Linked DNA regions of Homo sapiens: regions 1, 2, 4, 5, 6 and 7 are each linked to region 3. The links are contacts of gene promoters, found by promoter capture Hi-C in blood cells and fetal thymus (Javierre and others, 2016). All regions are on one chromosome and are shown on one strand. The core of a region is centred on a gene start or on the middle of the fragment in contact, and the rest is flanking DNA. Distances in the headings are between cores, read along the strand shown.

Region 1 (3,865 bases), core at 1,003-3,502, 590 kb before region 3:
CATTCCAGATGCTTATAATGTACATTGAAATTTGATACTTACTTAATGTGATGTGCTTAAGAAAGAAAAGGAGGTTGATTTTCCCACCTCTCCCTCAAGCCAAGCTATAATATTAATGTTTTTATGAAGGAAGTACTTACTATCTTCAGTAACATAAGTTGATTTAGTAATAAAGTTCATTGTATTAAGAAATTTCCTTCTAAATGAAAATATTGTTGGATTGTATGCAGAATCTCTTTGGGCTACAAAAGTATATTCTTGGTTTTTTTACCAAAGAAAATTAGGTGAGGTGACAGCATACGTTATCCTTACCATTAGTATTCACATGGATCCTTTAGGCCTAGCCAGAGCGAGTGATTGTATCTAGCAGGGAGGTCTAGACCAGCAGGCAGGCTGCTGGCTTGTCTGAGTCCGATCTGTTCTGTTGCCATGGAATTGTTTTAGCTGTGACTCAGATAGCAGATTAAAACACTGAGTCCAGCCCCGGCATTCTTTCTTGGAATTATACTTATTTCCCCAGAGCCCTCATGACTGAGTATATTACCTCTGTTTGAGAGAGAACCATTTTCTTCAGAAATTCATATCCTACCGTTCTGCTGTTTTTCATGATAATTGTTTTTCTCCTAACATTATATTTCTGTCTTTTAGATTTTAGTATTTCACCTTTTAGAATACATTTTGGATGATGAAGTTGTTTTTCTTATTTCTCCTACCCCCTTTCCTTCATCTCAGACATTATTTCCCAGCTTTCTTTGTTTCAGCTTTTTATTATGAAAAATGTCAAATGTGCAGAAAAATGGAAAGAACAGTACAACACACCCCCACATGCCTTCTGTACATATATACACACAGATGTTTTTTGCTGTGTCATGTAAAATTTAGTGGTAATATGTCACTTCACCACTGAACACTTCAGCCTGCATCTCTTAACAAAAAGGGCACACTTAAGCACAATACCATTATTATGTATAAGAAAACTAACAGTAATCCATAGTATCATTTAACATTCGGTCCATATTCAGATTTCTTCAGTTGTCCCAAGAATTTCTGTTATACCTTTTTTTAAACCAAAATCCAATCTGGGTTCATATAGTATTTGGTGAGGTCTCTGAAGTCTCTATTGGAGTAGTACAGTTCCTACTTTCTTTAGTGACATTGACTTTTTTAAGAGTCCAGTACAAATGTCCAGTCAAGGGTCAACCATTTCCTAAATTTTTCTGGTTGTTTCCTTCTTGTTTTTTTTTTTTTTAAACTTATCCCATTTATACTCTCTCCTTCCACCTTCATGTAAACAGGAACCTACCCTTATTTTTAGTCAGAGTCAGTGAAGATATTAGAATATCTTTGCCATTAATATGAAAAACTGCAAAGCCATTAATATGAAAAACTTTGCAGTTTTTCATATTCTGGGATTGGCCAGAAGAGGCTCAACCCTCATAAAGTTTTTATTTTATGTAAAGTATACTATCAGGTAATTTTACCATGTTTGCCCATGAACAGAAAGGAACCAAAATCATTAGAGGAATGAATGGCTCTTTGGGAAGCCTTTTTCCTTCTTTTTGTGCACAAGTGATTGAGGGTTAAAATAATAGAACCCTGATCATTTTTAATTACAGAATTTCTGAGTTTTTATTAAATTGTATGTGTGTGGACATCATTTTTCTTTTAAAGCTTTTATTTTGTAGGATTTAGGGTTCTTTTCACAGTCTGTTGCATTTCAGTGTTATTAAATTCCTGTATCTCATTGATGAGGAAATTATCTATACAGGTTGATTATCCATTATCCAAAATGCTTGGGACCAAAAGTGTTTCAGATTTCAATCTTTTTCAGATTTTCAAATATATGCATTATATACTTACCAGTTCAGCTTCCCTAATCTGGAAATCGGAAATCTGAAATGCTTCAATGAGCATTTCCTTTGATCATCATGACAGTACTCAAAAAGTTTCGAGTTTTGGAGCATTTTGGATTTCTGGATTGGGAATACTCAACCTGCATTACTGTGGAGCAGTAAACAAGAAATCTAAAAACAATTAGTATCCCATCTTTAATACCTTCTCACTCTGTTGTGACTTGATTTTGACCTTCTGAAATGATTCCTCAGGTATAGTATTCATGTTTTTTTTCCCCAAGACCCAATATCGTATTTCAAATCTCATGAGATGATGCTGTTAATAATGGTACCTGCCCTCTGTTGTATTATTTGCTCTAAAATTTTGGTAAAGCCAGAAACGAGTTCAATGTATGTGTTGTCTCTCTATGTACTGTTTTAGAAAGATCCTTATGCACTGTTTTAGAAAGATCCTTATGCCACACCATCTTCCCACCAAATGCAGAATGAAATAACTGACATAATTATTTTTCATCCTTCCAGCCCTTTTCATAATAGTGACTTTGCCACTCCTAGAATAGTTGAGATTAGCACAAGTGGGAAACGGATGAAAATCTACCATTTGTAATCATCTTTATTGTTTTTCAGAATTAAGATAGATTTTTCTGTTATATTAACTAGAATATTAAGTAGCAAATAATCCTCAATATTGATTCATTACACACTGGATACAAAGTATTATGGAGTTTATGTGAGTTCCCATAATTTAGTGGTGATGAAAGTATATTTGCACATAAAATATGGCTAAACTTTAAGTCATGGTTAATAGGGAGTTTGGTTAAAGATAATCTGAACATTAACCACCTTTACTGGCTAATGTCTGGTGTGCTTGGTAAGTCAGTATTTTGGAAAGTCGTTTAAAGTGACTGCTATGAAGGTTGTAGTTTGTATTAACAATAGGTTCCTTTCCTATGTTGTTTATTCAAGCCCTTATATGCTATAAAAGCTTATTGACTGACCAGCTAATCCCTATAGAAATCAGAATCAGCCTGTTTTCATTTTAATGAATATTTGATACATGTAACATTAACATGACTGAGAAATAAGTTTAGCACATAAGAATAAAGTGAACTAGGAAGGTGATTTGGAGTTAGTTATAGAAGTATTTTCAGTCAAGTCCAAGTACTTAAGAAACACTTATTAATATAGTGGGTGAGCAGGCTCTTCCAGGCTTAGAGGACATCTTGAATAAAGGGTAGAAGGTGAAAGTGAAAAGACCATGTATGAAAAACTGTAAGATTTCCCTGGGACAAGTGAAGATCAAGGATAAGAATGTATGAAGCTGGTTAGGGAGAATGGGGCAGGTGGTAGAGAGTCTTGAAGTCAATAGATAAGTTTATGCATGAGCCAGAGGGTATCTAGAACCATCAGAAGGGTTTGCTGATTAGTATGAGGTTGCAAATTGATATAGTTGGAAGAACATTCTGGTGTTACTTGTAGAATGGACTAATTGAAAGGAGACAAGACTTGAACTTGCCAGATGTGGCTAAGTTGTAAATACGGAGATGAAAAAAGTTGAGGGATGGGTAGAGAAACTATATTTGCTTGGGGACATATCTGTTGGGAGAACAATATCAAAAGTTTGAAATAACAGGAATAACTTGTTAATTTGTCCGTAGTGTTTTTTTCACTATGTTTTTACTTTGTCTTACTAATCTAACCATCCATTTCTTACTCTGTTAAGTATATGGCTTGTATTTCTTCTCTATTTCATATGAACTAATCCTTTTTAGAACTTCATTTTCCATTCAGTTTTCGGCTATTTATTTATTTATTTTTGAGATGGAGTCTTACCCTGTCGGCCAGGCTGTAGTGCAGTGGCACAATCTTGGCTCACTGCAACCTCCATCTCCCAGTTCAAGTGACTCTCCTGCCTCAGCCTCCCGAGTAACTGGGACTACAGGCGCGCGCCACCACGCCTGGCTAATTTTTGCCTTTTTAGTAGAGATGGGGTTTTACTGTGTTGGCCAGGC
Region 2 (4,004 bases), core at 744-3,243, 550 kb before region 3:
TGGGTGACAGGATCATTTGTACACCAAACCTGAGTGGCATGTGATTTACCCATGTAACAAACCTGCACATGTACTCCCGAACCTAAAATAAAAGTTGAGAGGAAAAACAAGAAAAAAAAAGAGAGTGAAGATTTCAAAAAGTCATCTTGGCAGGGAAGTCATGTTGACAAGAATTTTCTTTGTTCTATGTTAGGATCTCGCGCTACCCAGTTTAATGAATTCTATGTAGAAATGTTCCCAAACACCGTGTGCTTCCCTCAAGGAATGGCTGAAAATGCAGTAGAATGTAAATATCATCATGTTTTGTAGACTGCTCACAAATCATCGAAATCAGTGAATTCATTCCAGCAAATTCTTCTTGAGCTCCAACTATGTGGAAGCTACAATTCTTGGTACTGGGATTACAGCAGTGATCAAAACAGCCTAAAGCCCCCTGCTTTCATGGTACATATGATATAATAGAGCGAGACAGAAAATAAAGAAAATGAATAAGTAAAAATTGTCATTTGATGATAAATGCTATTAGAGAAACATAAAGCATAGAAGGGGAATAGGGAGAGTGGGGGTTGGGTGCAACTTTAAATAGGGTGACCAGGGCAGGACTCACTGAGGAAGTAACTCATGAGCAAAGCTCTGAAGGGAGTGAGGGCATTTCCAGTAGTCCAGCTTGAGGCCCTAGTATATGTGAGACCTGAGGCATTGGCCTGGCTTGCCCTAGATGTTCCTCTTCTTTTTGAGCCTGCTTGTGTTTGTCGGCTATTGGGTGAGGCTTGGCACAAGCAGTTGGGCCCAAGGGCACCCACTCATCCCTCCTGGGCTTGGAAAGCTGCTGTGCTGAAATGACCCCACCCCCATGCCCCTCCTGGGGACAGGGGACAGTCAAAGAGCCACTAGAGGCTCCCAAAACTCTCAAAGGGGCAAACCCTCTCCCCAGAACCTTATCAGTTTCCTGGTGCAGGCACTGCTGAGGACCTCAGCTGTTGTCTGTCCTTCTGGGTTTCTATGTTTAGTGTGAAGGCAGCCCTGGCACAGGCCTTCCTTCCCCTTCCAATCCGCAACAGCCTGTGCTCTGCATTGCAGCGTCACTTCCCTGCTGGAGGTTGCAATGTTTGCACCAAAAAGATGGCTTTCAAAGCCCAAGGTGTGTGTGCGGGGGGAGGGGTATGTGCACACACACAATGGAAGGGGGGCTGTATCTCAGACCCTCACATTTCATGGATTCATATGTCTTTTGCTCTGAGCATAAGGCTATTGAAGTCACAGTCATGGATTCCTGTTCTTTCGTTTATTCAACATTACAGCATGGGGTTACCAGCCTGACTACTAGCATCACATTGACTTGACCTTGAATATTAGCCCAACCATCTGCTTGCCATACGACCTTAGACAAGCTACCTGTAACCTCTCTGAGTGTTATTCTCATCTGTAAAATGGGACTCAAATGCAGTACCTTCCTTGTAAGGTTGTCAAGATTAAATGAGATCATCTTTGAAAGGCATTCAGCACCATGCCTGGCACACAGTAGGTGTCTCATAAATGACAGCTGCTATTACTATTAATTAGCCAGGGCTTACTGCACACCCATTGTGTGCCAGGCACAGTGCTAGGTGCTGGCAGAGTTAGCAAGAGGAACTCAAAGATGAGTGAGACAAGGCCCAGCTTGGCTCCATTCCTCACCCACATGTGGCTGCCCCAAGGCAGTCACCTCATCCAAGGGACCTTGCAGCTGAGTGTGCAAGCACCTGGGCCCTGGCGTGGGACCCAGTGGGGTTCAGGCCAGGGAGTGTCACCAGATGGGTGCAACACCCATACCCTTACCCTCACAAATGCCCCCCGCCCCACGCTGCCAGAATGTCACCTGAGTGCTGAGTGCCGGGCCTGCCCCACAGGGCATTGGGACGGAGGGCTCAGCACCAAGGCAAGGAGCTGCTCTGTGGGCTGGTCTGGACACAGTGGAGATCTGGGTCAGCGTTTTTCTGAGTGAATTCTTTTTTTTTTTTTTTTGAGTCGGAGTCTCCCCCTGTTACCCAGGCTGGAGTGCAGTGGTGCCATCTTGGCTCACTGAAGCCTCTGCCTCCTGGGTTCAAGCTATTCTCCTGCCTCAGCCTTCCGTGTTCAAGCGATTCTCCTGCCTCAGCCTCCCGAGTAGCTGGGATTACAGGCATGTGCCACCACGCCCGGTTAATTTTTGTATTTTTAGTAGAGACAGGGTTTCGCCATGTTGGCCAGGCTGGTCTTGAACTCCTGACCTCAGGTGATCTGCTGGCCTCGGCCTCCCAAAGTGCTGGGATTACAGGCATGAGCCACGGTGCCCAGCCTTGGGTCAGTGTTCTTCTGTTTACCCTCTTCAGTGTCTCAGCGGTTGGCAAGGCATCATCACTCTCTACCTTTTCTTGGGAAGTGGATTCCCCTCCCTGTCAGAGACTCTTCCTATTATTTTGGGGCCCCTTTCTCTTTCACACTCATTCACACACTCCCCAATCTATGTCCTCAGTCACTACTAGCCTTAGTGGTCAGTGGATCCCCATGGCGAAGGGGAAGCTCATTGGATCATAGCAATATAGCTCACTCGCCCACAGGGCGTGGCCCACTGGAAGAAGAGGAGAGGACAGGACAGGACTTGGCCTCTGCCTTGCCTGATGGATTGTGTTATCTCATGCAGGAGGGAGTGGGGAAACCCATGTGGCATTCGATACACAGCCCAGTGCTAAACTATGCAGTCTGAGCTCTATGCTGTCTAAGAAGAGGGCAAGGGCAGTGAGGGCCATAGCAAGGAAGGGAGACTTGAGCTGAATCTCAAAGGAGAAGAAGGATTGGGATGGGGTGGCAGACTCCAACCTGGGTCCAGGGGGATGTGCTCAGCTGTCTGATGGCTGGAAGCAGAGACCCATGTGCCATGAGGAGTGAAGATGTCCATTAGGCCCAGGTGAGAGGTGGAGCATGCGAAGTGGGGGTCAGGGCTGGGGGCAGAAGAAAGGCATAGAGGAACCATTGGCCAGAAGGTTGCAGAGGCCATAGGGGTAGCCTTTTTCCTCCAACTCCCATTCTATTCTCTTTTTAGCCTTTATTTTCCGCACCATTCCCCTCCTCTACTCTCTTTCCCTTTTTTGGGGTCTCTTTGTCACCCTCCTCCCTTTTTTCTGAGTCTCAGTTATTTTATCTGCAAGATAAATGTGCTCATCCTGGAAGCTGGTGATGTTGCCTCTCCTGCTTTTCATTCCAATTCTGAGATCTCATTCAGCAAGAACTGCTGTCTTAGGGCTGCTCTCCCAGGACTGGGCCCTGTTGGCTCCTGTGGATATACATCCACCAGCAGAAAAGCCTGAGGGTCCAGGCCTTGGGATCTGTGCCACTGCTTGCTGGGGGTTGCGGGACAAGCCTGTTTTGCTTCTCACTCAGGCTGAAGACAGGTGAGGATGCCAAGTCCAGAAATTGCTTTGCTTCCAGCATCAAATGGCTTCCTCTCAGCAGCACAGTCCCTTTAAGATGGCGGGGGGCGGGGAAGCTAGAAGAAGACCTTTGATGTTGTTCAACTGAGAAATCCATCAGGTGGGAACAAGCCCGGAAATGCCAGAGTGAAGGGCTCCGTGGTTGGCTGCATTGGTGGGTCTACTGCCTGGACTTTGTTTTCTGATGGTAAACGTTCCCTGACATAAACACAGGCAGAGCAGGGAATAACAACATTCAGTCCCCAAACAAACAAAACAGGAATGGGACCTGTCTTGCACGGGGAATGGCTCTTGTTGCAATGATATAGCTCAAGAGGCCTTCACTGTGGAATTTCCTGCCTTGAGCATGATGAATTTTCCATTCTTGTCCTCGAATGAACAGTCGCCATAGAGCTTAGTGGCTGGCCTGTGAAGCTCAGCAAGGCCCTCTGGGAAATGGGCAGCTTCGCCTTGGCTGAGCCTGGTCAGAGGGGCATGCCTACCTTTCCTTGAATCAGTTGCTACTGTACGCCTTAAAGTGCCATGAGAACCATCATCCTCAAATGCTTAAAGACT
Region 3 (4,122 bases), core at 123-2,622:
TTTCTGTATTGTAAAAGCCTCAAGGATAACTTCTGACATTGCAAATGCCCTAGGGGTGGACATTGAAGGATTACTGATTTTTTTTTCAAAGCAACTCCTACAGGTGGATCATTCATTGCCCCCATGAAGTAACGCAGTACGAAAAGAAGCAGGCTCAAGCCATGCTCAGATAAATTCACGGATATCTGATGTACAATGGGCTAATTACTGGGAAGAGACCCGAATTCATTCTTAACTTTTTGAGGTCAACTTTAGGAAGCAGTATGGAGTTGCAGCGAAGGGATTAAGGACCTGGAGGCTAGCAAACTATCCTTAGCTCTACCTATTAATTAACTATGTGACCTTTGGCAAGTAATTTCACCTCTCTGTGCCTCAGTTTATTATCTATAAAATGAGTGGGTTGACCTTTACCACAAAATCCCTTCCAGCTCTAAAATTTGATGAAACAACTTAATGGAGAACAAAATACAATGCGTTCTGCAAACTGTTTCTTTGAAGCCTTAAAGACCACCAAGAAGTACACGGCTCAGGCATCTCCAATTAAGTCTGGGCCAATTCTCTGGGTGTCTGGTACACAACCAACCGACTCCTTACTTGCCCTGCACCGTTTCTGTTTCACTGGGCATTCAAATCCATGGATCTCATCTGTGGTTTGGAAGGCTGAGCAGATAACACCCTCATTTACACAAGAAACTTAGGCGTAGGGCTTAAACGTCCTGTTTAAAGTCTCAATCGGTAAATGACAAAGTCTACTTGACCTCATTGCTCTAAAAAGGGGGGTGGGGGGTGGGGATGCCGGGGAGGCGCCGACAGCCAGTTGTTCTGGGATCCCTGAACAGCAAACGCTCCCGGGAAAAGGCCTCAAGCCGACTACTGGGTTCAAATCTCTTGAAGGTCAGGTCGGCATGGCTGAGCCAATTCCTCCGCTTGCAAGACTCAGGGTTCGGAGTCTGCCAATTTGGAATTCACGTGACTATGTGTTAAGTTTCTCGCGGGGACGCGGGGGTAGAGGGCTGCAAGGCACAGGGAGCCTAAGGCGCCAGGCCCTCGGACTTGGAGGTTGCCTGGAATGGGTCAGTCACCTGGGAGCCGGTTCCTCTGCCTCGGGCTTCGGACGCACACGGTCCGCACCAAGGGCACCAGCTTCTGCTTCAAAGCACCCGCCGCCAGGCCTCCACACCGGAACATTTCGGCGACCGCTATTCGGGACCTCCTCCTTCCCTTTCCTCTCACGCACGACCGACGGGTCAAACACCGTGAGCCCCGGCCAGCTCCCCCAGTCTCTTCACACGCACATTACGCAGACTCCTCCTCCCAGCTCCGGGTGGGCATTGGACAGAGAAGCCGGCCTGCTAGAGCCGGGGAAGGGGAACGGCGACCGGAGGCCTACTGCGCAGGCGTAGCACTCGCTGCCGCATTGCGATTGGTCCGCACGGCGAGAGGATTTGCGCATGCACTAGCTGGCCGCAAGCTCGCAAAGACGCTGGCTCTAGGTAGCCGGTTTTCGCGAGTTTGTGGCACAGTGTTGGACTGAACGAGTTAAGGAACCTGTTCAAGGAGGGACTCGTGGGGCCGCTTTGATTGGCGGTTGTGCCTGGTGCTGCCGCTGTGTTGGTGACGAGAACTGATAACAGCATCTCACAACAGCGTAGCCCCGGCATCGCACTTTGTTTTTTGGTTTTAGGACACCAGTTACTTGATACCGAAGCCTTCCTGATTCTTTTGCAGTGATCCAGATCCAGTTTTTCCATGAGTCCGAGGCGCGGAACCTGGCTTCCCAGATCCGGCGTGTACTTCCATCTTTTACCAGTTGCCGGCTCTTTCCCACCCAACCCGTTTCCTGGACAAGTAATTCTGCGCTCTTCTTCCCGCCTGTCACCTTTATTTATTAGTTCAGTTGTGTGTCCTAGATGCTGTATACCAGGTGCTACAGATACACACAGTCTCCTGCTGTGGTTTCTGTGCTTGGGAGCAGGATGTTAGCAAAAAGCGTTCGTGCTTCTCGGACTTTCTGGGAAGAGAAGTCTGCTAAGCAGAACTTTCAGTTATGGGAGTAGGGTGAGGGGCTGAGTGTAAATAAGTGTTTTGACTCTGCCAGATATAAGCTAAATTGGAAATAATGTTTTGGCTGCATGCAGAACATACAATGTGCCTGTTTCAAAGATTCAGCTTACATATTCATTTAACAAGTATTTATTGAGCACTTACCTCTTGGATTGTACTATAAAAGGGGCTCTGTTGGGTATGAAAAGTACGGATGGTCCCCGACTTACCCCTCACAATGGTTCGACTTACAATTTTTCGACTTTATGATGGGTTTAATGAGACCTAACCCCATGTCAGTCGAGGAGCATCTGGACTTAAGCATGGTTCAACTTACGGTTTTTTGACTTTATGATGGGTTTATCAGGGTATTAAATGCAGTTTCGACTTAACGATATTTTCAGTTTACAATGGGTTTATTTGGACATAGCATCTATATAGGAAGTGGCCACTGTCTAGTTGGGGAGATGACATATACCGGTCATTGAAATAATATCTGGTGTAGTGCCGGACAGAGCAAGAGAGAAGACTATGGGATGGAATCACTATGGTAGAACTTCGTGTAAGAAGTTATTTGAGTTGTGTCTTGAAGGATGAGTAGTAAAATTCAAACAGTAGAGGAAAAGGATTGATATTTCAGATGGTGAATACTTTCGGACCAAAGATAACATTTTTCATTGTTAAACATGTTGACCTTGGATCCAGACCAACCCACATTGAATCCTGGCTCTGCCACCTGGGCAAGTCACTTAATTGTGCCTCATTTTCCTCATCTACAAATCTCAGGAGGGTGTTCGGAAGACTAAATGAGCTAATATTTGTAAAGTGTCTTAGAGGAAGCACCATGCTGTTTGTTAAATGAAAAGGCTTGGAACTGTTTTAAAAAACCAAAACCCAGCACATTTTCGGGGGACAATGATAGAGAGTACATACTAAGAAGTATTGATGTGGTCAGGCTCCGTGGCTCATGCCTGTAATCCCAGCACTTTGGGAGGCCTAGGCGGGTGAATCACTTTAGGTCAGGAGTTTAAGACCAGTCTGGCCAACATGGTGAAACCCCGTCTCTACAAAAAATCCAAAAATTAGCCGGGCGCCATGGCATGCGCCTGTAATCCCAGCTACTAGGGAGACTGAGGCAGGAGACTCGCTTGAACCTGCCAGGTGGAGGCTGCAGTGAGCCAAGATTGTGCCACTGCACTCCAGCCTGGATGATGGAGCAAGACTCTGTCTCCAAAAAGAAAAAAATAAAGAAGTAGTGATAAAGACAGGCAAGTATGGTGGGGGGCCAGATTTGAACTGGCAAGAGTTGGGCCCTAACTTTGGAGGTAATGAAGTTACTTTTTTTTTTTTTTTGGTGGAATGGGGATAGAGAATGAAATTACAGGGCCGGGTGCAGTGGCTCATGCCTGTAATGCCAGTACTTTGGGAGGACGAGTGGGAAGATTGCTTGAGGCCAGGAGTTCCAGACCAGCCTGAGCACATAATGAGACATCATCTCTACCATTTTTTTTTTAAATTAGCCAGGCGTGGTGGTATGTGCCTGTGGTTCCAGCTACTCAGGAGGCTGAGATGGGAGGATCACTTGAGCCTAGGAGATCGAGACTGCAGTGAGCAGTGATTGCTCCCGTGCACTCCAGCCTGGATGACAGAGCGAGACCCTATTTCAAAAAAGAAAAAGAAAGAAATTACAAAGATACTCTTTTTTTTTTTTTTTTTTTCTTGAGACGGAGTCTCCCTTTGTCACCCAGGCTGGAGTGCAGTGGCAGTATCTCGGCTCACTGCAACTTCTGCCTCCCAGGTTCAAGCAATTCTCCTGCCTCAGCCTCCCGAGTAGCTGGGATTACAGGCAGATGCCACCGCGCCCTGCTAATTTTTCTATTTTTAGTAGAGACGGGGTTCCACAATGTTGTCCAGGCTGGTCTTGAACTCCTGATCTCAGGTGATCGCCCGCCTCGGCCTCCCAAAGTGCTTGGATTACAGGCATGAGCCACCTCGCCCGGCCTACAAAGACACCCTTCTGTGAAGTTTAACCCAGGAAGTAGTTTTGTTTTTTGGTTTTCTTTAAGAGACAGTCTCATT
Region 4 (3,714 bases), core at 265-2,764, 620 kb before region 3:
CAATGGCTGCTTATGTGCCAGGTACTGTTCTAAGCCCTTTTCATTAGTTAGTTCATTTAATCCACATGTGAGGGTTACTATAAGATAGTAATATCATCATCCCCCTTTTATAGATACAGAAATTGAAGCACAGACAGGTTAAGTCACTTGTTTGCAATTAGGGAGTAGAATACCTGAGATCTGATCCTATGTAACATGTCTCAGAATTACACTGAGAAGTTTCTCTTGAAAGCATTTGCTGGAGACACCTAATACCATAATACCATCTGTAATCCTCATATTCTTGTCTCTCTGGTGTCTTTTCTGACTCGAGTGTCCAGAACTTTTTACTTTTGGCTTTTTTATCCTAGAACTTGAAGCCTGACTTAAATCTTTAGGTCTGTGGTTCCTACTGTCAACCATAGGAAATTTGCTTGACCAAAATTACAATTAAAAATCAGGGTTTTTTTGGAAACAGGGAATCAAACACTTAAGATTCATATTTTTCAAGGATAATAGATTATGACAAAACCTGTTTGACCTTTAACCTTCCTTGAACAAATCAAAGTGTTTCCTAGGGATAAGGCAGAGTTGGCATTCAGGATTTGTCACTCTTTTCTGTTTGACAACTACCAAATTCTGAATTCCATTGTTTTGCTGTATACCAATTATTTCTAATCTTTATATTCTGAAATGAATAATTACACTCAGAATTTTTATGCTTATTCTTAGCCCTACTCTTTTATTGTAATTTAGTGGGTAACACGTAGTAAATACTCAATAAATGTTGGTGAAATTCACTTAAATTCTCAGTTTATTTGTTTTGTAATAGTTTTTAACAGTACTGTCCAGATGAAGCTTTAATGCTAATGTTCAACACCATTTCTTGTTTATGTATTTTGAGATTTTAGTGGTTTGTGTTTATCTTCCTCAAAGTAAGCTCTTCCTCCTTAACCCTTGATTTCTCAGCCTTTTATCTGGTTTCTGGTTTCCATCTGGGTTTATAGGACTCTCCACTCAACTCATGAACTTTCCAGATGGAAAGGGGCCTGCCCCATATTCCTGTAATCACCTTAGAGTACAAACCCCTGCAAATTAGGCAAGAAGGATCACAGCAGAAAAACAGCATTAATACTTTTATTTCCCTTAGTTCTATCTAAGTAATTACTTATCCTATCCCAGGTTATCCTCTTCAAAGTTAACACATTTGAAAATGCAAAAAGCAAAAGCAACAAGCACCCCCAAAAGACAACAAAATAGAAATCAAACCCTTCAAAACAATGACATTTTAATGTCAGAAGTTGGACAGTTTCATTGAAAAATTCACCGCTGCTTATAGCTTAATTAAGCTAGTTAATTTATTCAGCCAGTATTTGTTGAGCATCTATTAGGCTGCAGACAAAACTGAATATGATCTGGTCTTTGCTTTCAAGGAGCTGAAATCAGTGAGGGGAAATAAATATAACCATAATGGAGTGTGTAAGTGTTCTATTAGAGGGGCAAACAAAGGCGATAAGGCTGCTGGTTCTGCTTGGGGGTACTGAGGACAGTTTCATGGAGGAGGTGATATTTGAGATGAAACTCGGAAAGAAACAGAGTGTTCCTGACAAAAAACTAAAAACAATACTTGAAGAGTGCTTGACTTTGAGAATGCTAGTTGACGTTCAGAATGGCTGTTTACCAGTAGGTCGTACCTTGATTCTGGACCACTAAGGATAAATAATAAATGAAAAATTAATATTTCAGGAGTACGTATGGATTTAGAAGTATGGATTTCATCTGGGGAGTCAGGTTTACTCATGTTTATGTAGAAATACCAGCGTAAACTTGGAAACCAGAGAAGAAACAAGGGATTTGAAGGCAATCCAGTTGTGATATCTGCCACCTTGTTGGTCACTGATATTTTGACCAATCCAGCTGGCTGAGCACCCCCTCTTACTCCTCCATGAACCTGAATGCTTGTTTGAAGAGACAGATCCATTCTTTGGTAAAAAGCCATGGGAATATAATTGGAAGGTTAATTTATGAATTTTCTAATTCATTGATTCCACACACACGAGCAACTCCTGTGTGCCAGGCTTTGTGCTAGGTACTAGAAATTCCGTGGTGTAAAGATAGCTGTGGTCCCTGCACTCATGGACTTCACATCTAGCTGTCAGTTCTTCACTCTGGTATGCATACTCTGAAGCTATATACTCTGTAATTCATGCTCTTAAGCTTGTACACTGTTTTTAGGATATATGGCCTAGAGAACAGTGTGGGTAATCAGATGTTCATCACCACTAGCATCCTTTTAGGCCTAGAGCAATATCTAGCTGTCATGATGCTCAGATCCAGGGAACTAGATGCAGCAAGTCTAGTAAATACAGACTAGATTTGTATAACAGGACAGTGAAGTATTTTTTTGCTAAATGAGTTTTTCAGTGGCTGTTCTTTGATGCGTTCTTCTGTTTCCTAGGTTAATAATCCAGTTGCATGAGAAGGAACAGCATGTTCAAGATATCATTCCTATAAATAGCCACTTCAGATGTGTTCAAGGTACTAGCTTTAATTCCTTAGCTAGTTTTATAATGTTTTTTCTCGGTCATTACTGCATTATGTAATACCATACATATTTAAATTTGTCAGTGCATGTAAAATGAAATGTATTACTCTTTGCATAAAAAGATAACATTGAGGAGATGATACTTTCTCTAAGAATGCTGAAGGGTTATATCGAAATATATTTGTATATGTGTGTCTATAGTCTCACCTGTTTCCTTGGCTTGGGTTAGAGATGTATGTAGATTGTTACCTGTGTAGGTAGTTTTTTATGCTGACTGACCTATATGTGGATTTAAATAACATTCTTGGGCTTAACGGACACAGTGCTCATAAGGTACCAAGGTCACTTGGATTCACACACATTCAGCACTTTCTCCACATGCTATTTGAAATTAAGACATTTGGCAACATGCCTTGCCAGACTGTAATATCTTACACTCAATTGTGCTGATTCTCAAACCTTGACATTGGTGAATCATAAGAAAATTGACTCTGGGGAGGAAATATTTGGCCTCCTGCCCTCAAATTTGGGGACGGAGCATAGAAAATCTGTTGTTTCATCTGCTACAATGAAACTTAAAAATTGGGAGGTTTGTGTAGGAGGTGTTGCTTCTGTCATCTCACATTGCTCTAGAAAGGAAATTGATACTAGAGAACAAATGCATTCTGTTTTCACTAGGACCAGTGGCTTTATCTAGCAGAAGCATTCTGTATCAATTGTAGCTTCTTGGAAAACTTGTTTTTTCAAGACAAGGTCATTTCCCAGGCTCAAGTGATCCTCCCACTTCAGCCTCCCAAGTAGCTGGGACTGCAGGTGCACCACCCCCCAGCTAATTTTTTTTGTAATTTTTGTAGTGACGGGGTTTCGCCATGTTGCCCAGGCTGGTCTCAAACTCCTGAGTTCAAGCAATCTGCCTGTCTCGGCCTCCAAAAGTGCTGGGATTACAGGTGTGAGCCAGCATGCCTGGCCTTTCTTGGAAAACTTAAATCTTACCTTGCATGGATTATTTCTTAAACTACATTGAACTTTTTTTTTAATCACTAAGTGACATGTACATAATGTAATACATTTGGAAAGAACAGAAAAGTGTAAAGAAAATAGGTCACTTAAATTCCCATCCTTTCAGAGATAAACACCTAGCATTTTCCTTTTTTCTACACATACATTGCAGGGTGAGTGATACTCATCTT
Region 5 (3,052 bases), core at 553-3,052, 610 kb before region 3:
AACCAGGCATTGTGCTCAGTCTTCAATAAATGTTAGCTATTACTAGTCTGTTCCAAGTTCTTATAAACTTCTATTGTTCTAGTTAGTATATCAGTGCTTCAGGGATAGGTATGCTTCTTCGAACTCCAATCCAAGTAATTTCTACCCTTATGATAGTTTTCTGTTTAGTAATACCACTGATCAAATTGTGATCAAATCAAAGCCCTGTTACCCTGGATATGTTGGATGTTAGATTTTTTCCCCGTTTGACTTTGGGGTCTGTGTCTTTCAGGGCTTCTTGGATTTGAAGACAATTTTTCTTCTATGAATTTGGACAAGAAAATAAATTCACAAAATCAGCCTACTGGGATTCATCGGGAACCCCCACCTCCACCCTTTTCAGTGAATAAAATGTAAGTCCCATGTGAAAACATATTTGCCTTGTAGGAGAATTATAGTTTAAACAATTTTACTTTTGAATCTCTCATTTATTTGCTAGGCTTCCACGTGAAAAAGAAGCTTCTAACAAGGAGCAGCCCAAAGTGACCAACACCATGCGGAAGCTCTTTGTACCAAATACCCAATCTGGGCAGCGGGAGGGTCTCATCAAACATATCCTGGCAAAGCGAGAGAAAGAATATGTCAACATTCAGACTTTCAGGTTAGTGTCTCTTTTGCTTCCTGAGTCTAAAAAGTTAGTATATATAACAGACAGTGGCCTGTTGATATTTAAGACATTAGCCTAATTAAGAATCAAAATATGATAAAAAGGAATGGTTGCCTGTTTCAAGCTCCTGTCTCTATGCTGGCCAATAACATGCATATCAGAAATAATGCAGATGCTACAGTTTCCCTTGGATTTTCTTTTTTTGTGTGTGTGGGTCAGGGTCTCTCTTTGTCACCCAGGCTGGAGAGCAGATAGATCATGGCTTACTGTAGCCTCAACCTCTCAGTCGTAAGCAATCCTCCCACGCCAGCCCTGCAAGTAGGTGGAACTACAGGTGCACACCACCACATCCAGCTAATATTTGTGTTTTTTATAGAGACTGGGTTTCACCAGGTTGCCCAGGCTGGTCTCAAATTCCTGAGCTCAGGCAATCCACCCGCCTTGGCCTCACAAAGTGTTAGGATTACAGGCTTGAGCCACCGTGCTTGGCCTTCCCTTGGATTTTCTAACTACTAATAATGCCATGTCTACTAATGTCTCTACTGAGTCCTAGAGAACCAAATCAAGGTCACATGTACTAGAGAATTTTCCCCTAGCACATTCCATAAGCAAGCGTGTTTATATATCTGGCCTGTTAAGTTTTTTTTTTTCAGCCAATATTAGAAAATTAAAGTCCATCATTACCACTAGCTCTTAACTTACTTACTTTGGTAAATAAAGAAAGTTTCACCCAGTCCTCTTGATTGGGAGGTCTATCTTGGGTTCTTTTATCTGTATTATTTTTTATTTCATCTTTTTTCTGGACTTGTGTGTGTATGCTGCATGTGAGGTACCATGTGGCATGTATCGCCAATGCATGAAGCAACACCACATTTCTTTGTTATTCATGAGCAGAATGTACCCTTCTAGTCCAAGATTCTAGTCCCATCTGCTATCCTGTCATACCTCATTTATTCTAATTCAGTCATAACTATATCCCTATGCTAAAACTTGCAGTTCCTCATATCCCCCACTATGCTTATATTTGTGTGTAAACAGTTAAGACAGTCATGAGTTTTCCCTTCTGCTTTCCCCCTTAATACTATGTCTGCCTCATCAGAATTTCCTACACAGATGTCCTTGTAATCCTTCAGGAAGTGAGTTCCTGGAGTCAACTATAGCCCCTTATAGAACATTTATCCATATTTGACTAGCTTACAGCATGAAGATACCTCTTTCCCATCCATAAGCTCTCCTATCAAGTATGAGTTTGGATGGAGCTTAATTGAAAGGAAATGTGGTATAGCAATTACCTTTGCATTTTTTAAAAATAAAGACTTGGTTTCCTTCTGTAGTTTTACTTAATGTAAAATTTAGAGAAAATAAGCCCACTGCCTTTGTGTTCTAGATGCAAAAGATCTTTCTTACATATGTGGCAAAACATTTTGAGGAATTATGTTAGCATATTGTGAACATACCTTTGTATGGAAGCGAAAAGAAAGAACTTCTGTTGGTTTATACTTGATCTTTGTTTTCAAATTATCTTTTCGTATTATGTATTAGATTTTTTGTTGGAACTTGGAATGTGAATGGCCAGTCTCCAGATAGCGGGTTAGAACCTTGGCTGAACTGTGATCCCAATCCTCCTGATATCTACTGCATTGGGTAAAGAACACTTCTGGAATTTCCTTTTGGCTATATGTTTGGTGTTCATTTACATGATGTTTTGCCTTTTTTAAAAAAGACTGTTGGTAAAACCTACTGTAGACTATACACGAGAGTTAACTTGCGGGTCAAATTTGTGAGAACAGAAATGAACAGATACCTAAAATGGTGTAAGGAAGCATCTAATTTTCTTGAAACCCGTAGGAATCTATATATTCTGCATAGAAACTAAGACTTGGGGTCAGTTCTAACAGTGACAGTTCCTAGGATATAAGAGCAAAGCTCTGCTGTTATCCTCTGTGGGAGGTATTTTGATTTATTTTTTGCATAGCTTATGAATGTACTTGTGGGAATTCTTTAGAAAAGAAAGCTACTTGTTCTTACTGATAACCTGGGTGAACAGAGCAGTTCTATAAAATTTATCTCTCTCCCATCTTTTTTTCATCTAATGTTTCAACATATGGGACAGGAGGTAGCCAGAGATAATTATGGGATATGTATAGATCTCATATCCCTTTTTTCCTCAGATTCCAAGAACTGGACTTGAGCACAGAAGCCTTCTTCTACTTTGAATCTGTGAAGGAACAAGAATGGTCCATGGCTGTAGAGAGAGGTTTGCATTCCAAAGCCAAGTATAAGAAAGTAAGCCGCATTTAATTATCTTTTTAAGTGTATGACTAAATAGGGCTCACCGGGAGTTATTCCATTATCTACAACTTGTTCCAAAAGAATAGTTTAATTGAATTCTTCTCTGTGTGTAAT
Region 6 (4,019 bases), core at 998-3,497, 570 kb before region 3:
CAGCTAGTGCAATTATTCCCAAGCCCTCCATGGGCCTCCAGGCCCAGAACCCGCTTCTGCTGCCCTTCAGCTCCCAGCAAGTGACTGTACCCTTTACTTTGTGAAAATGTCAAAACAGCCTTGCCCCCTGCACATCAAAATGTCTTCAGCTTAACCTCATCCCTCCCCCTTTCCATCTGTCTGAGAATAAGCGGTCCTCCTCGCCAAGACCAGCTCTTCCACCTGCACTTTTGAGCCCTTCTCCTCCACCCTCTCTGGACTTTTCCCCATCAACCATCACTCCTCCTCCTACATCTCAGTATGGGTTATTCACTTGACAAGTATTTGTTGAGTGGCTCCTGTGCGCCCTGTGCTGTTCAAGGTGCTGGGGATCTAGAATTAAACCAGACAAGGTTGCCGCTCTCATGGTGCCTTCATCAAGAGGGCAGGGCAGGGATGAGGGTGGACAGACATGCAAATTAACAGTACCCAAGGTCACTACAGATCCTGACAAGTACTGTGGAGAGTATCAAACGGGGATGCACTCGAGGGTACAGCGGGGGGCCTTGGTCAGGAAAAGTTTATTTGAGGAGGTGATGTTTTAGCTGAGACTTAAACCTCAGGAAGCCAAGACACCGTATCTTGATTTGAATACCCCCAAAAAGAGCCACACGTGCAAGATCTGGCAAAAGACATTCTGAGCAAAGGAAAAGAGAAATGCAAAGGCCCTAAGGCAGCAAAACAGCTGGCTGTGCTCAGGGGACAGCCAGGCAGAACTCTGTGAGGGACAGGACTTGCTGGACAACTGATGAGCAGGAACGTGATCACAGAGGGCCTGAGGAACCCCAGGCAGGAGCTTGCATTTCATTCGACACCACAGGGAGCCATGGCTGGCTTTACTCAGGGAAGTGACGTGATGTGACTTCTGTATGCTCCTTCTCCTAACCTTAGGAAGAGTAATAACTAATAACTCTAGCTGTCATTTATCCCAGATACTAATACATTTAACATCACTTTTGCCTTTACGATAGCCTGATAAAGTACTACATTATCCCACTTTTTTTTTTTTTTTTTAAGACGGAGTCTAGCTCTGTCACCCAGGCTGGAGTGCGGTAGCATAATCTCGGCTCACTGCAACCTCCACCTCCCGTGTTCAAGCTATTCTCCTGCCTCAGCCTCCCGAGTAGCTGGGATTACAGGCACGTGCCACCACGCCTGGCTAAGTTTTGTATTTTTAGTAGTGACAGGGTTTCACCATCTTGGCCAGGCTGGTCTGAAACTCCTGACCTCGTGATCCACCCGCCTTGGCCTCCCAAAGTGCTGGGATTACAGGTGTGAGCCACCATGCCCGGCCATTAGCCCACTTTTATAGGTGAGAAAACTGAGGCTCAGAGAGACAGCATAACTTGGTACTCGGCTAGTGGCTGACCAGAAAATGACTTCTGAGCCCAAAATTTGTGCTCTTAAACACAGCCATTGTCTCCCCAGCTGGAGTGGGCATGAAGGTGAGGGTGCTTCTTAAAACCCCTATCCCTTCTAGCTACATCCCAAGATTTCATGTCAGCTAGATTGCCTGCTGGCAGGTCAAATTCAACTTCTCTTTGACCTTGACCAGCTTCTCCTGGCATCCTCCTCTCTCCCATCACCCAGGCCTAAGCTTTTGGTTATTTTTGGCCCCTGCCCCACTTTCTAATCAGTTACCAATTGCAATTCAACAAATATTTATCCAGCACCTGCCAAGTGCAGGCTACCATGCAGGGTTCTGAAGGAAACCAAAATGGGTGAGACTGGTCGTTACAAGACAAGACAGACATAATATTTTTGTTTGTTTTGTTTTATTTGACACGGAGTCTCACTCTGTTGCCCAGGCTGGAGTGCAGTGGCGCGATCTTGGCTCACTGCAACCTGCACCTCCTGTGTTCAAGCGATTCTCCTGTCTCAGCCTCCCTAGTAGCTGGGACTACAGGCGCGTGCCACCACACCCAGCTAATTTATTTGTATTTTTATTTTTAGTAGAGACGGGCTTTCACCATGTTGGCCAGGCTGGTCTTGAACTCCTGATCTCAGGTGATCAGCCTGCCTTGGCCTCCCAAAGTGTTGGGATTACAGGTGTGAGCCACTGCACCTGGCCAATATTTTTTTAAAAGAAGGAAAAAAAGGAAAGATGGATGAAAGAAGGGCAGGAAGGAAGAAAAGAGGGAGGAAGATGAGAAAAAGGGAAGAAAGCAAGAAAGAAGAAGGAGGGAGGAAGGAAGGACCTCCACGGAAAAGGGGCCGAGATCAGCTCAACCGCAGTCTCTAGCTGGCCCCTCCTTTCCACTGCGCATTTCCCAGCCCCTCCAACTCCTGCCCCACCCCCCCACCAATAAAATTCAAACACTCATTGCCTCATGTAAGGAGTTAAATCGCCTGATGTATTTAACTCCTTTCTAACTAATTTCTCAGTTGCCAGTTTCTCTCCCTGTACACATCACTGCACTGTTTTGATGTCTCTCCCCTATTCCAGACCCCTGCTGGCCCCCCAGCCCACTTGCCACAGAAGTTCCAATCCTTCTGCCTGGCATGCAAAGCTCTCCTTAGTCTCTTCCACCCACCTCTCAGGCTGAGTCTCCCACTCGACCTTCTCATGCCGTTCCCTTCCCTAAACTCATGCGCACTCTCTGCTTTGGCTCGGTGGTCTGTACCAGCCACCTGGAACCCTCCAGCCCCCACCTCTCCACCTGCCCAAACCCCATCAAACCCAAATGTCACCTCTTCCAGGAAGCCTTTTCCCACAACCCCTGCCCACCACCCCCCTCCCCCGAACTCCTAGAACCTGCCCTCTGTACCACTATTTTAACACACTACATACCAAAGGATGTTGTTGCCCCTTTGGGACTGGAAGCTTCAGGAGAGTGGGAACCAAGCTGGGCGTATTTTAGTTTCCCCACAATGCCTTGCAGAGAGTAAGTGTTCAATGATGTTTGGCTAATAAATAAAGATTGTCTGTTAAAGCATAAGTGTATCCAATAAGTGTTCCTGAAATGTATATACATTTAATTATTCATTCTGAGCTCTATTAACTTTAGAGGAGTTCATGTGGTAGGGGGGGACTTACTGAATTATATTAATGTAATCCAAGAAGATAATAGTTTTTAGCAACCACACAGTACTGTTATTTTCTATTGTTTTGTAGGCAACAAAATCAGCCTTGTTAAATTTGCTTTTTAAAATTGATTCTCAAAGTTTATTAAAAAATTAGAACTAGAACTACCATATGGTTCAGCAATCCCACTTCTAGAGATATATCCAAAAGAATTGAAAGCAGGGTCTCAAAGCTATATTTGCACACCCATGTTCCTAGCAGCATTATTCACAATAGCCAAAAGATGGAAGCACCCCAAATGTCCATGGATAGAAAAACAAAATGTGTTAGTTCTCTACATACAATGGAATATGATTCAGCCTTAAAAAGGAAGGAATTCTGACACATGCTGCTACATGGATCAACCTTGAGGACATTATGCTAAACGAAATAAGCCAGTCCCAAAAAGCACTGTATGATTCTACTTCTATGAGGTCCCTAGAATAGTCAAATCCATAGAGAAAAGAAGCATGGTGTTACCAGGGGCTGGGGATTGGGGAAATGGGCAGTTGTTTGATGGGTATACAGTTTCAGCTTTGCAAGATGAAAATGTTCTGGAGATTCATTGCATAGCAATGTGAATACTCCTAACACTATTGAACTCTACACTTAAATATGGCTAAGATGATCAATTTTATGTTTTGTGCTTTTTTTTTTTTTTTGAGTCTAGCTCTGCCACCCAGGCTGGAGTGCAGTGGCGCGATCTTGGCTCACTACAACCTCCGCCTCCCAGGTTCAAGCGATTCTCCTGCCTCAGCCTCCCGAGTAGCTGGGATTACAGGCACCCGCCACCATGCCCAGCTAATTTTTGTATTTTTAGTAGAGACAGGATTTCACTGTGTTGGCCAGGCTGGTCTCAAACTCCTGACCTCGTGATCTGCCCTCAGCCTCCCAAAGTGCTGGGATTACAAGCATG
Region 7 (3,874 bases), core at 1,125-3,624, 740 kb after region 3:
GGTTGTTTATTAGGGCTAATTTCACTCCCAACTTTTGACCTTTTTTTTTCTCTGTTAGAGATGAATCCTTGTAGCCTTGTTACAGTTGAATTACTACAACTTCTTGATGAGGACAACTTTTCGACTCACGAGTAAAATGAAGGGAAAGACAGGGGAATTGCATTTTGCTGAGGTAATTGCCCAATATTTTAAAAAGATAAGTGAAGGAGGAAGACGATTTAATAAATTCAACCATTTATTCAGCATAGTGCTTTGTGCAAAGCTCTGGGCTAGGCACTGTTGCCACAGAATTGGAAAAATAGTCCCTACCCTCAAGTAGCTCAAAATCCAGGTGAGGGGAGTTGTAGTAGAGGAGAATCTGGGGGGAGGAATAGATGAGTATACAATGTGCAAAATGCTGTAAAGAAGTCTACATAGGGTTCTATAGGAACATAGAGGAGGAAGAACTTGTTCTACTTCTGGAGAACTGGTTGAAGAACCAGTAAAATATTTGTCAGATTTGGGGCAGGGAGGTCAACCATATTCTATACAAAGCATATGCAAAGGCATAAAGGCATGAAAGAGTGCAGAGAACAATAGCAAAAGTTCCATATTGCAGAGACTAGATCAGGCAGCAACAAGGGGTCATATCAATTAGTTCATAATTTAACTTGAAAGTGGGAGAGAACCATCAGAGGAATTTTTGTGCTTATATAGTGTTTATTTTTTAAAGCATATACACATAGAACATACTGGGAACACATAGCTAGGGTATTATGGGGAATCATTCTGGAGGGTGGTAATTGAATTGCTATATTATGTTTTAATACTTTTTATACTTTTAAATTCCTCCAGGAAAATAATTTGCTTTTTTAAAAAAAGAAAAATCGGCTGGGTGCCGGGGCTCATGCCTGTAACCCTAGCACTTTGGGACACCAAGTTGGGAGGATTGCTTGAGCCCAGGAGTTCGAGACCAGCTTGGGCAACATAATGAGACCTTGTCTCTACAAAAAATCAAGAAAATTAGCCAGGCATAGTGGCGCATGCCTGTAGTCCCAGCTACTCAGGAAGCTGAAGCAGGAGGATCCCTTGAGCTTGGAAAGTTAGGGCTGCAGTCAGCCGATATTGTACCACTACACTCGAGTGTAGTGGGTGATAGAGCAAGACTCTGTCTCAAAAAAAATTAAAAAATTAAAAAAAGAAAGAAAAAAGAGAAAAAGAAAAATCACCTCATTTCAGCCATAAAAAGGAGTGAAACAAGGCATTTTCAGTATTATGGCCACCAGAAAAACATTGTGTGAATCAAATGCAGAATTTCTTTTCTCAGCTTTGTCTCCTTTCTTTTTATCTTTTTTTCCATGACTCTTTACTTTGATTTGATCATTGATTTCAAAGTATTTGCAGAGCACCTACTATGTTCCATACACTATGACAGGTTTTGGGTTTTAATGGTGAGTTAAAACATGGGTTCCTGTTCATCAAAGTATTTCTAGCAGGAAATGGAATAATCAGATGGAGTTGGTAGATGTGGAAAGTGAGAGACGGGGAGGAGTCCATTACGACTCCCAAGTTCTGACTTGGAAGACTAAGTGTATGGTAGTACCATTCACTGAGATATTGAACCTAGAAAGAATAGCAAGTTTTGTGAAGAATAGGAGGAAATCAGTTTTGAACATTTAAAATTTGAAGAGTCTGTGGAACTTTTGGTTGGAGATGCCTGATAGGCTGCTGAGAAATGCCGGTCGGAAGCTTGGGAGAGAGGTCTTGCTTGGAACTAAACATTTGGGAGACATTAGTATAATATAGAGGGCAATTAAATAAGTGAAAAATTGTTTAAACTTTACTTAGAGAGTATTTTTTTTTTTGAGACGGTTTCTTACCCTGTTGCCTAGGCTGGAGTGCAGTGGCACAATCTCGGCTCACTGCAACCTCTGCCTCCTGGGTTCAAGTGATTCTCCTGCCTCAGCCTCCCGAGTAGCTGGGATTACAGGTGCCTGCCACCACAGCTGGCTATTTTTTTTTTTATTTTTAGTAGAGATGGGGCTTCACTGTGTTGCCCAGGCTGGTCTCGAACTCCTGACGTCAAGTGATCCACCCGCCTCAGCCTCCCAAAGTGCTGGGATTACAGGCGTGAGCCACTGTGCCCAGCCAATTTAGAGAGTATTTAGAATAATAGTTTTTAAAAAGACAAAGATTATGGAATCCTGGAAAATAATGATATTCAAGTAGCAAGTAGAAGAAGAGATGCCTTCCAAGGAAGCTGAGAGGGAATGCCCAAACAGATGAACCAAGAGAAAACAAAGTAGAATTACTGGCATATATTACAGAGAGGTCAAGTAGCAGGACAGAATAGTAAGAAGAAATTACTCCTTCATCAATATAACAAGTTTTTATTGAGTACCTATAATGTGCCAGACATTATTCTAGATGCTGGGAATAGAGAAGTGGAAAACACATACAACATCCCTTCCCTTTGGAGGCTATATTCTGTTAGGAAGAAGCCATCAACAAACAAGATAAATAATTAAAATACATAGCTGTGATAAGTAATATTTCTTACTGTGTATGTCACAGCTGTGTATGGCTATTTCTGTATGGTGATATAAATACACACACACACACATATATATATCTCCAATAAGCCATATGGAAATTTTATATATAATATATAAAACATATCTATATCTCCAATAAGCCATACAGAAATTTTATATATAATATATATTATATATAAGCACAAATGTATACATATATTTGTATGTGTATATACAAACGTGATACTCTTTGGTCTGTTGTTATATAATAAGATGAATTTGTGAAATACTGGCCCAGGGTCAAACAGTCTGGCTGGATTCAGAGAACAATTAGGAAGTCAAGGTTAGAGCTGTATCCAGAGCCAGTGTAGAGCCCAGGTCAAGGCCAGGGTTCATGTGTATAATGTGGAATGTATTTAGCTTCAATCTTTTCTCAGGTTAAGATTTAGTAAGTCTGTAGCTGTTTTTACAGGCCATTGTGGATTCAGGATCAGAAGACCATCAAACCAAGCTTAGGGTTAAGCCTGATAGCAATATTAGGCCCCAGATTTAGAGCCATGGTTCAGTCTGTGTCACAGATTAAAGTGCATTTCTGACCACTCTGGACTAACAGCAGCCTCAGGGTGTTAAAGCTCACTCTGAGGCTGCTGTAAGTCTAGAGTGGCCTGGTTTATGAAGTCAAGGTGCAAGATTTGGGTTCAAATTTTGGCCAGAATTAGGATTTAGTCTGTGTGTAGGAAGAGGCCTCATTCTAAAATTAGAGTTAGGGCTCAGTCTGTGGACCAGACTTAGACCACACCCAAGGTTAGGGCTCAGCTCAATGTTTGACTTTAGTTTTTGATCAATGTTGGAATCACTTTCATTTCTAGACTTGAAAGTCAATAAAGGCCAGGACCATGGCTCTGCCTGGGATTAGTCTTCATGCTGATGATGTTGCCTAGGAAAAAATGAAGTAAGAATATGAACAGGATTTATGTTCAGTCTTTCTTCAGGTTAAGTTTCAATTCGTATTCATGGTTAGAGTTTATTCTGGGTCCAATAATTAAGTCTCAGTCCGTGGCCAATGGTAAGGCACAGTCAATGTCTAATATTCAGTCTGTTGCCATGTTAGGACATTACCTGTCATGTGCCCTAGAGCCTTGTCTCAAACCAGAGTTAGCATTTCATATATGGACAAAATTATGATACAGTTTGTGGCCAGGATTTCAATGATGAATATGAACAGGATTTGGGATGCATATTTGGCTAGAGTAAGTTCAAGGTGTGGTTTCTGACTTTAGCCAGTGTCAGGATTCTGTCTTTGTCCATAGCTCATATCAACAATGTTCTATGGAGCTAACTCACAGTGGCCTGTGTTGGCC

What was found. The method cuts DNA at HindIII sites, captures the fragments that hold promoters and counts their contacts. A CHiCAGO score of 5 or more calls a contact.
Region 1: a contact is called between a fragment that was not itself captured here and the fragment with the promoter of AIFM1 in region 3, in 6 of 17 cell types (M2 macrophages, M0 macrophages, total CD8 T cells and 3 more). The highest score is 12.0, in M2 macrophages.
Region 2: a contact is called between a fragment that was not itself captured here and the fragment with the promoter of AIFM1 in region 3, in 11 of 17 cell types (naive CD8 T cells, total B cells, non-activated CD4 T cells and 8 more). The highest score is 10.8, in naive CD8 T cells.
Region 4: a fragment that was not itself captured here is called in contact with the fragment with the promoter of AIFM1 in region 3 in 5 of 17 cell types (M1 macrophages, M0 macrophages, M2 macrophages and 2 more); the score reaches 9.0 in M1 macrophages.
Region 5: a fragment that was not itself captured here is called in contact with the fragment with the promoter of AIFM1 in region 3 in 4 of 17 cell types (M1 macrophages, M0 macrophages, total B cells and 1 more); the score reaches 9.1 in M1 macrophages.
Region 6: a contact is called between a fragment that was not itself captured here and the fragment with the promoter of AIFM1 in region 3, in 4 of 17 cell types (total B cells, M1 macrophages, naive CD4 T cells and 1 more). The highest score is 7.1, in total B cells.
Region 7: a contact is called between a fragment that was not itself captured here and the fragment with the promoter of AIFM1 in region 3, in 1 of 17 cell types (naive CD8 T cells). The highest score is 6.0, in naive CD8 T cells.

What each region holds. Positions count from the first base shown.
Region 1 is chrX:129,577,213-129,581,077 of GRCh38, forward strand. The region is part of intron 18 of OCRL (OCRL inositol polyphosphate-5-phosphatase); the gene reads left to right. Among named protein-coding and RNA genes, the nearest start is that of OCRL, 39 kb to the left of the region's middle. The HindIII fragment of the contact is 1,167 bases long and covers 1,670-2,836 here.
Region 2 is chrX:129,614,038-129,618,041 of GRCh38, forward strand. No RefSeq gene overlaps it. Among named protein-coding and RNA genes, the nearest start is that of APLN, 39 kb to the right of the region's middle. The HindIII fragment of the contact is 7,528 bases long and covers 1-4,004 here.
Region 3 is chrX:130,164,469-130,168,590 of GRCh38, forward strand. AIFM1 (apoptosis inducing factor mitochondria associated 1) reads right to left here and starts at 1,373. Exons shown (of 16, transcript NM_004208.4): 1 at 1,083-1,373. The coding sequence starts at 1,188. It also overlaps a transcript of RAB33A not described here. RefSeq lists an enhancer at 1,022-1,361. The HindIII fragment of the contact is 8,785 bases long and covers 1-4,122 here.
Region 4 is chrX:129,542,521-129,546,234 of GRCh38, forward strand. OCRL (OCRL inositol polyphosphate-5-phosphatase) reads left to right here. Exons shown (of 24, transcript NM_000276.4): 3 at 2,438-2,517. Among named protein-coding and RNA genes, the nearest start is that of OCRL, 4.1 kb to the left of the region's middle. The HindIII fragment of the contact is 1,359 bases long and covers 836-2,194 here.
Region 5 is chrX:129,558,362-129,561,413 of GRCh38, forward strand. It overlaps OCRL (OCRL inositol polyphosphate-5-phosphatase), which reads left to right. Exons shown (of 24, transcript NM_000276.4): 7 at 272-392; 8 at 479-640; 9 at 2,189-2,290; 10 at 2,818-2,932. Among named protein-coding and RNA genes, the nearest start is that of OCRL, 20 kb to the left of the region's middle. The HindIII fragment of the contact is 2,612 bases long and covers 497-3,052 here.
Region 6 is chrX:129,595,537-129,599,555 of GRCh38, forward strand. No RefSeq gene overlaps it. Among named protein-coding and RNA genes, the nearest start is that of OCRL, 57 kb to the left of the region's middle. The HindIII fragment of the contact is 1,227 bases long and covers 1,635-2,861 here.
Region 7 is chrX:130,904,124-130,907,997 of GRCh38, forward strand. No RefSeq gene overlaps it. Among named protein-coding and RNA genes, the nearest start is that of ENOX2, 2.9 kb to the left of the region's middle. The HindIII fragment of the contact is 1,296 bases long and covers 1,727-3,022 here.